Regions from separate parts of the Homo sapiens genome. Here region 1 is linked to region 2. Evidence: promoter capture Hi-C in human tissues and cell types (Jung and others, 2019). All regions are on one chromosome and are shown on one strand. The core of a region is centred on a gene start or on the middle of the fragment in contact, and the rest is flanking DNA. Distances in the headings are between cores, read along the strand shown.

Region 1 (4,717 bases), core at 1,294-3,793, 700 kb before region 2:
GGTTTAGCATTTACCAATTAAGAACATCAGATGTGCACTCCAGCCCGGGTAACAGTGAGACCCTGTTTCAAAAACAACAGAAAGAACACCTCCTGAGAATTGGCAAATTAAGGTGGTTTCTGGGAGCACAGCCAAACCCTAGAAAAACATTCAAGCTAGAGTGAATGTGCCACTTCACCTATCTCCTGGTTTACCAGGGAAGTTCATGTTGCTATTGACAGCTCCAACAAAGAACAGTAGCAATTCCTGTGGGCCAGGCCCAGCAGCCACACACGAAAGACACTGTGAGAATGGTATGGGCTGCCTAGTCTGGGTATGTCAGGAATAGAAATCCTTTTCTAACTGGCACACCATTTCAGAAAGCTTGAAAGACCAGAATCATCAGTCACATTTCTTCCTGTTTTAGTCCCGGGTGCTCATGAAGTAACCCTGGAGTATGTCACTGGTTTTAAGACTAGGTTGAAAAAGGCAGATGGGTCCCTTTCTGTACGAAACTGAGATTTTTACTGACATGCAGATGTGCTTTAGAGTTAATGTTTCTACAAAAAGTTTCTATAAACAATAGAAAATTTCTAGCATGAAGTCACAGGATGTTAAAAATATTACAATGCAATAAATACAACTACATCCTCCACAGCCCCAACCAGACAGGAATAGGCAGCTATCAGGTTTGGAGGGAAACACTCTTGAGATCGCCTTCACGATCCACAGAAACCCAGAGCACCACACAGGAAGAGGGAGCAACACAAGACTCCCAACTTCTGCTTCCCCAGCTTTGCTTCTTCTCAATCTGACCCTGCCTGTGGCCCGCACCAGCTAAAAACTGTAGCTTCAGTCCACTTCGGCTCTCGGGGAAACCCTCTTGTCAGTGGACTGGATGGACAACAGGTCTGTTTTTGTGCAGAGCACATGGACACACTGGTTTCTGTATGGATTAACTCTGCCTTACGGCCAGTAATAACCTCAGGGCCAGGTCCCGTATCCATGTCCTCTCTTTACAGGGCCTTTCAGTGACCTCTAGAATGGACTCACAGTACAGGTTGTGATGTGAAGGCATGTATTCTTTTGGAAATGGCCTTTGAGAAAAGTAACCAGGGACCTGAAAGACCATGAGATTGTGGAAGGCACCTGGACTTAGTCCTAGGAGAAGACCAGCGGCTTTGCTAGCTGCTCATCACAGATGTAGCCTAGTTGGTCTGTATTATCCTTGGATGACAACGGTGTCATGTGACACTATCTAGGGTACTGTGGCTCTTGTGCCTGAGTGGACCTTGAGGCTGGGGAGGCCAGACTGAGGGGTCATTCATGGAAGGGCAAGATGTGTGAACTCTAAAGGGGATGTTAGCACTAAAGACTTCCCAGCCCTGGTCCTTGGAGGTACTATACTTGATACTGTGCCAAGTTTAGCAGTAGCCTGTACCATGGATCCCATCAGGTGACCAGATTCTTGCCCAAAGCAAAGTTGAGAGAACTGACCAAGTTCTCTTCAGCACTTAGCACCTAACCCAGACATGCCCCTTAGGGAGTGGGGAAAGTTTCCTGCCAGCCCAGCAGCAAAAGGGCTCAGTGGGAGTTGGAGTGGTCCAAGAGAAACTCTGGCACAAGTAGTTGAGGGCTGTGCTCTTGCTGCGAGCCTTGCTAGTCGCAGGGTTGGGCACAGCACCCTTAGTTACCATTCTGTACAGGTATGTGGCTGCACGGGGGTGGGAGGGCTTGTGGGAGAAGGGCTGCTCTGCTCTAGCTTTTCTTGGAAAAGCCAAATCTCCAAGTAGAATGGGAACTATCTGGGACATCTAGACAGAATAGTTTAAGCCCTAACTCCCTTTCTTGATACTTTAGTATAATTACTTCTGGTCCTGCACAGGGCCTGTTCTCTCCAGCTCCAGACCTGGATCTCTTTCCAGGCTGACAGTGGTGGAAAGTGAGGTGGCAGTGCAAGAAGGGCCTAGAGATCGGCTACAAAGGGAAAGAAGAGATGACAAGAAAGGCCGAGGAAGGATGCCCAAAAGCTTGATTCAGGGTTCAAAGATGGTGGCCAGGCCACCCCCATCATTGTCCAGCACCTCCGTCTCCAGCATTGGCTTTGTTTTTTTGAAAAGTGAGGGAAGATTCTTAATGTGAACTTCTTTTCGGAACTGCTCTCCCAAGGGTTTCTGTGGAAAACAAATGAGAAAGAATTAATGCTGGGCCCTCAGTAGTAGTTAAAAGATTCTCTTGGCCCGGCGCAGTGGCTCGCGCCTGTAATCCCAACACTTTTGGGAGGCCAAGGCGGGTGGATCACCTGAGGTCAGGAGTTCAAGACCAGCCTGACCGACATGGAGAAACCCCGTCTCTACTAAAAATACAAAAAGTAGCCAGACGTGGTGGTGCATGCCTGTAATCCCAGCTACTTGGGAGGCTGAGGCAGGAGAATCGTTTGAACCTGGGAGGCGGAGGTTGTGGTGAGCTGAGATCGTACCACTGCACTCCAGCCTGGGCAACAAGAGTGAAACCCCATCTCAAAAAAAAAAAAAAAAAAATCTCACCATAATGGTCAATAACTACAGCTGGTTTATGGTTTGCCCATACACATGATTTAAGAAGGGGGTTGGGAGCACTATTGAAGGTGCATGACCTACCCCAATGCAACCAGCAATGAGGCGTTTGAATTGGTCCTTTCGGCGCTTGTCAGCCACTTTCTGCAGGGAGGGGTTTAAAAGCTTGCAGTCAAACTGGTCCAGTGAGTCCTTCTGTATTTCAGGGATTTGCTCCATTACAGCTCTTATCTCCAGGTACCTGGGGCGCTGATATCAGCAGGGATAAACTTACTGGATGTAGGTTTGGATATTGCCACCCTCCCCATTTCCTGCCACACCCATTTCTCAGAGATTGCACCAGCAATTTGGCAGGTGCCTGAATTTAGGATAAGGCCCAAGAGACTAGGAGCAGACTGAGTGATGAAGCTGCAGCCATCCTTCCCCCATGCCTTCCCCACTCACCAGTGCCTCGTATATCTGGAAGGCCAGATGGACCAGGGAAGCCATGCACCCGTCGTGCTGCCCGTGCATCTGTAAGCCTTTCAGCACACTGGTGAAAAGCCACGTAACTGCATCTGCGAGCAGTGTCCCTGACAGCACCTGGGGAGACAACTGTGCTTTAGGGCCACAGGGGGCCTCTCTCAAGGCCTCAGCACCCCAGTTCTTCTGAATGATTTAGTCAGTCTGCATGACCCAAACCTTCCATGAGGGGCAGGGAAAAGGGGTGAATAACCATACTTGTTTGAGGAGAGGCCAGCAGAGCTGTGAGGTTGTCCTCTGGCAGGACAGAGTATCTTTCCAGGCCAGGGAATTGAAGGCTGTAATTAATAGCGCTGTACAAACATCCTGAACAGGAAAAGATGAAGAGTTACAATGGAAAAAGAAGCACAGTTTTCTCTGATGATTATTACACATCAGGAGCCGGAGGGTTTTTTTTTTTTCCTCCCCCCCTCTAAAGATGGGTTTGTTTTGTTGCCCAGGCTGGTCCTGAACTCCTGGGCTCAAGCTATTCTCCCATCTAAGCCTCCCGAATAGCTGGGACTACAGGTGTGTGCCACCATGCCTGGCTTAGGAGCTGGAGTTTTAAATAGCTAAGCAGGAAAAATAAAAGGAGTTTACTTCCTCTATTTTTGTGTATTGCCAGTCAAAAAGAAAAAATCAAAATGTGAGAAAACCTGTATGTGTAGGATGGAGACAAAGCTCAGGCCTGGCTTGGGGAGGCTAAACACCAGGGATCTGCATCAGTGTGCCTACTATGTGTTTTCCTGAGAGCTCCTGCCTATGCTGGTATGGGAGACACCATGGCATTGCACCTTTTCCCTCGGTTTTTTCTGGGGCCTTTGGAACCAGGAACTTATGTAACAAAGGAGTATTACAAAAAACTCTTGATAGCACCATAGAGCAAGAAAAGTAAAAGGTGACTCCCCACCTGGGCAAGGAGTAAAGGTATCACCTGCTCCTTCTACCCACCTCATGCTTCATCAGACATTTGCCCAGGTCTGTAAGCTCTGCCATAGCTGAGGGGGTGACCTCTGTGGCCATCATTTCTTCATCTGTTATCAGAGAGTAGAATGTTAAGCTCCATCCTTTCAGAACAGAGAAGAATATCTTGTTCTGACAGAAGCGCAAAAAACAAAGCAAAGCTGAGTGTTCTAGGCTAAGTGGTGGCTAAGTAGTACTAGGAGCCCTCCCACCTCCACATAATGCCCATGCCCATGGCTGATCTTCTAGAGATGCACTCAAGCTGTACATGAGGGAAATGGGAGCTTCTAGGCAGAAACACAAAATGCTGCAAATACTGAAGTTACTTTGTTGTTGGACAAATATTTGAGCACCAGACACTGATTTAGTTACTGGGGATAAAAGGTATAGGACAATAGGTCCCTTCCCTGATGGGAGTTTACATTCTAACATGGGAGATAGGTAAGAAAGGAATACATAAATAAAAACATAATGTTGGGTAGTGACAACTGCTATGAAGAAGAATAAAGCAGAGGAATACAGAGTAGCTGGGGTTGCCATTTTTGATAGGTTGGTCATGGACGATCTCTGGGAAGAGGTGACATTGGAATAAAGCAAGAGAAAAGATCACATATATGGTTGGGAGGAAATCATCTGAGACAGAGGAAACAGCAAGTGCAAAGGCTTGGAGGTGGGAGTATGATGGAGGCACACAGCAAGAGGGCTGGTCCAGAGATGAT
Region 2 (4,804 bases), core at 2,305-4,804:
GTCTGGAAAATTAGCCTAGAAGACCAGCCCAGACCTAACTGAACAAAGAATTTAGTCTTCTCGAACCCCGAGCCAGTACCCACACTGTGAACACACCTGTCTTTACTTAAAAAATCTTGATGTTTTATTCATCATGGAGTCTTTAAAAAAAAACAAAAACCGAGTCTCGCTCTGTTGTTCAGGCTGGAGGGCAGTGGTGCGATCACAGCCTACTGCAGCCTCGACCTCATGGACTCAAGCCATCCTCCCACCTCAGCCTCCCAAAATGCCAGGACCACAGGCATGCGTCAACATGCTCAGCTAATTTTTTTTTTTTTTTTTTTTTAAGAGACAGAGTCTCCCTGTGTTGACCAGGCTGGTCTTGAACTCCTAAGCTCAAGTGATTCTTCTACCTTGGCCTCCCAAAGTGCTGGGATGACAGATGTGAGCCACTGCACTTGGCATCATGGAGTCTTGATTTGTAGACATTGCATTAAAACTTATTTTGGTAAGGGCTGGGTGTGGTGGCTCACGCCTGTCATCCCAGTGCTTTGGGAGGCCAAGGCGGGCGGATCACAAGGTCAGGAGTTCGAGACCAGCCTGACCAACGTGGTGAAACCCCGTCTCTACTAAAAAAAAAAAAAAAAATACAAAAATTAGCTGGGCGTGGTGGCACGTGCCCGTAATCCCAGCTACTCAGGAGGCTAAGGCAGGAGACTCGCTTGAACCCAGGAGGTGGAGGTTGCAGTGAGCCAAGATCACGCCACTGCACTCCAGCCTGGGTGACAGAGTGAGACTCCATCTTAAAGAAAAGAAAAAAAAAAACAAACTTATTTTGATTACATTAAAATGTATCTTTGTTTGTTTGTTTGTGTTTTCAGACAAGGTCTTGCTCTGTTGCCCAGGCTGGAGTGCAATGGCAGGATGATGGCTCACTGAAGCCTTGTCCTCCCGGGCTCTAGTGAACCTCCGGCCTCAGCCTCTGGAGTACCTGGAACCACAGGCTCGAGCCACCATGCCTGGCTAATTTATTTTAATTTTTTTTGTAGAGATGGGGTCTCACTGTGTTGCCCAGGCTAGTCTTGAATTCCTGGGCTCAAGTGATCCTCCCACCTCGGCCTCCAAAAGTGCTGAGATTTCAGGCATGAGCCACCACTCCTGGCCTAAAATTTATCTTGATTCATGAGTTTTTTGGCTCCCCCTTACATTTTACACCCCTGGCAAGTGCCTCACTGGCCTCTCCCTAGTCCCAGCCCTGTCACAAGGCCATGGAGATACAGTCACAAACACAACTGAGAACACAGACAGTCATGAGACATGTGCTGGTTACCAACCCCCAGGCCAAGCAAACACACTTCCAGCAAACACACATGACTTGTTGGTGACAGCTGAGAGGACACATGCCTGGGGAGAGAGAGGACTGTGTGTGAGGTGGTGAGGCATGCATGGGGCCTGCCAAGTTGGGGAGGGAGTCTGGGCCAAGCCACGGTCCCATATAGGGTGGTGAATAAGGTGTAGAGTAGAGGTGCAGCAGGACCAACCCTTCCCACCCCACCCCTTCGACAGGGACCTGAGGGAGCTCAGGGAGGGAGAGAAGCCAGAAGACCAGGCAGAGACTGAAGAGAGCTGGCAAGGCCTGGCTAGAAAAACTCCAGGCAAGGCCTGTGTAAGTTGGGGCTCCCAGGCTGTCCAGCAGGGGGCCCTGGCACCCAGCAACCTCTGCTTGGGAGGTGGCTACAGAGGGGTGTGGGTGTTGGCTAGGGGCCCAGCAGGATGGATGCCAGACGGACTTCTCTCCAACAATAACAGCCCTGGCTGTTGCCATCCACCGAGCTGGCAGGGCCCCAGTTTGGGTGGGGAGAGGAACCAGCCTTTCCCAGTCTGGCCTGAGACCCTCACCACTTCCCTCCAGTTTTCTTCCACCTCCAGCCCCCTCTGTACACAACTGCAGCCACTGGCCACCAGCCTTGCCATGCCTGGCAGATCTTCTGACCACTAGCCCTGCCACCCCCACAGACCCAGAGACCAGGAAAGGAGGGTGGGGAGCGAGGAAGGGGGCCAAGGCAGAGGGCAGAGGAGGGCTAGGAGAGGAAGAGAGAGAGACTGGACAAACATGAGGGCAGGAATTAGGGGGTTGTGGACAGACATGAAGCCACTCTCAAGTCATGGGGCTGTGCCTGGAAAAATACCACCTAAACCCATCTTCCTGCCCTCTGGTTAGGGCTGGCGGGGATGTGGGGGATGGGGGTGGGGTGGGGGAGGGTTGGGAAGGAATATGTGTGTCATCTCTGTGGGGCATGGAAACAGAAGGCTGGGGACACCCATTCTGGAGTAGCTTGGGGAGAGCCACTGACCCTAATTAGAAAAGCCACCTCTCTCCTTAGGGCCCTGTCTGTTTCTCTGGGGACAGGGTAGGACTACCTTATCCCTATGATGTGAGGTACTGCCAGTTGTTAATCAGTGTCTGTGGCTTCTCTAGGGGACAAGCCCTTCGGGTCAGTGGGCATGGGGTGGGCAGCGTGGGTTGGATTTTCTCCTCAGGACCTTTCCAGCCTTAGGATCATCCTCTAGCACTGAGTACTGCTGGAAGGGCAGGGAGTGCCCCCCACCCCACCCCATTTATTGCCCGACCAAAGAGAGGGCCTCCCTCCCCCTCCCTTGGAGGGACTTGCTGGACCACCCCTCAGCACGCCCACACCTTCCTCCTTAGCTAGTGAAAGACATACTCAGCAAGGCTTCCGCCTGTCAGGATGGCTGGGACAATAGGATTCACTGAGGATATAAGGCTGTTCCTAGCTTTTTCTCTTCCCATTCCCACCTGTGCCTCAGTTTTCCAAAGTGCTGGATTTAGAAAGGGTGAATTATGAGGGAGCTGGAGGGCTTTGCCCCACCCCCCTCCGCGCGCACACGCAAGCACAGGCAGAGGCACATACCCCCTCCAAGTCAAAGTTGTGAGTGGGGTGGTGTTTGCGCGTCTGTGGCTGGGACTGGATGTGTCAGGGATGGGAAAACCCATCATGCTGGTCACAGAAAATGCGCGGTGGGGACAGAAGCAGTTTTGAAGGAAAAGAAGAGGAGGGGGACTGAAAGAAAGAAGGGGGCGCTGAAAGGGAGGGCGCTGGGAGGAAAAAGGTGCAGTGTGGAGGAAGCGCGGCGTGGGCAGGGCTTGGGAAGGGATAACGGAATATCTGAGGTGGAGTGGGCCGTGGAGCGTCGGGGCCGGTCTGAGCAGCGGGTGTGTAAATGGAACAGTCCCGAGATGAATTTTATGGGAGTCTGCGCAGGTCCTTAATGTGTGGCTGTACCCTCCAGCCCCATGTACCCCACACGATGGACAGACAGCCTTGGTGTGGCAGGGCCCAAAGAGGTCCTATCTACCGCAATAACACGACCAGGCGGCCCTGGGGGCGCAGGGGCTCGGGGTGGGAGCGGCGGAGCGCGCGGAGTCGCCGCGGGGTGGCAGGGGTGGGCCGGGGGCGGGGCCGCGGGCGTCGGGGAGGTGGCAGTGGGCGCAGGGCGGGGCGAGCTCAGCGGAGGGCGGGTTTGAATGTGCCCCGGCGGGAGAGGGAAGCTGCAGCGAGAGCGCGCGGATCTCAGCGCGGGAGCAGTGCTTCTGCGGCAGGTGCTGCCCGGGGCCGGGGACTGGGGACTGGGGACTGCCGGGGCGGAAGACGCCGCTGCCCGCCTGCCACGGAGGGCAGGGAGGGCGGGCCTGACGGCTCCGCAGCCCGGAGAAGGGACGCCGGGTGGGGCCCCAGTGCGGAGCGTGCGGAGCCGCGCAGCACGTGGCGCGCACGGGCCAGGGAGCCTGAGGACCCTGCGGGGACCGGGACCCAAGCTGGGCGGGGCGGCCTGGCTCCCGGGCCTAAAACAGGCTGCGGTCACGTTGACCTCCGCAAGGGGCAGGCGAGTGGACGGGTGATCCCCATCGATCTGGTCGGTATCAGGGAGGGGCCGTGCCGCTGACTGCGCTGGCGGAGGGGTATGGGGATGGGGATGGGGATGGAGGCTCGCGAGCGGAGGTGCAGGCTCGCGAGCGGAGGTGCGGGGCTGTCTCTTTAACCCCGGTCTTTTACTGGCTAAACTCGTATCCCTGGCGTCTCCTTCCTGCGCACGTCTTCATTTACTGATTTACTGTGAGGGTATATGAGAGGGTGAAGACAAACAGTCCTCGGCTTTGCTTACCAGGAGAGAGCAGTCGTAGGTCAAGGCTGGCTCCAACCCTGCCCTCACACCTCTAGGGGTCTCTCTGCAGCCCTGTGGTAGTCCCTTTGCCTACTCCTCTCGGTGGCCTCCAGACCCTCCAACTTTCCTCCTGCTTGTGTAAGCTCCCCATGCCAGGATGTGTGTGATGGGGCGGGGCTGAGCTGCCTGACACTCAAGTCAGGCTGGGAATGATCTTGGTCTCCACCTCATTTTTCCCTTTAGTTGAATCAGAGTTCCCCCCACCTCCCAGTCTACAGGGCTAACTGAGAAGCAGCTTTTATACCTCTCTCCATTCCAAAAGGAGCTTGAACATTTAATATGGATTCTAGCTCCTCCACTCACCAGCTCTGTGACTTCAGGCAAGTGACTCAACCCCTCTGAACCTCAGCTGGCCCCATCTATTCAGTGCTAGTACTAGCTTATGGGTGGTTGTGAAGAAAAGACAAGAGATCTGCAGGTAGTGGCTAGCCCCATATGAAATCCTGGGAGTGGAGAATTGCAGGAGAGGTGTTGGGAGTCTGGAGGCAGGGAGGTACTCAATTTGGTGGCTACTTTCAGGGGCCCACCTCAGCAGGCCAAGGCATAGTTGGAGGGACACCAGATGCTCTGAGCTGGTATC

What was found. The method cuts DNA at HindIII sites, captures the fragments that hold promoters and counts their contacts. A contact is called where the count stands out against the background at its distance.
Region 1: a fragment that was not itself captured here is called in contact with the fragment with the promoter of SLC29A1 in region 2 in 1 of the 25 tissues and cell types used here (dorsolateral prefrontal cortex).

What each region holds. Positions count from the first base shown.
Region 1 is chr6:43,521,853-43,526,569 of GRCh38, forward strand. XPO5 (exportin 5) reads right to left here. Exons shown (of 32, transcript NM_020750.3): 28 at 3,987-4,069; 29 at 3,255-3,362; 30 at 2,979-3,116; 31 at 2,619-2,783; 32 at 482-2,153. The coding sequence ends at 2,016. It also overlaps a transcript of POLR1C not described here. Among named protein-coding and RNA genes, the nearest start is that of POLR1C, 7.1 kb to the left of the region's middle. The HindIII fragment of the contact is 5,249 bases long and covers 1-4,717 here.
Region 2 is chr6:44,220,041-44,224,844 of GRCh38, forward strand. It overlaps SLC29A1 (solute carrier family 29 member 1 (Augustine blood group)), which reads left to right and starts at 3,555. Exons shown (of 13, transcript NM_001372327.1): 1 at 3,555-3,601. RefSeq lists enhancers at 3,384-4,242, 4,485-4,634 and a silencer at 3,395-3,794. The HindIII fragment of the contact is 20,616 bases long and covers 1-4,804 here.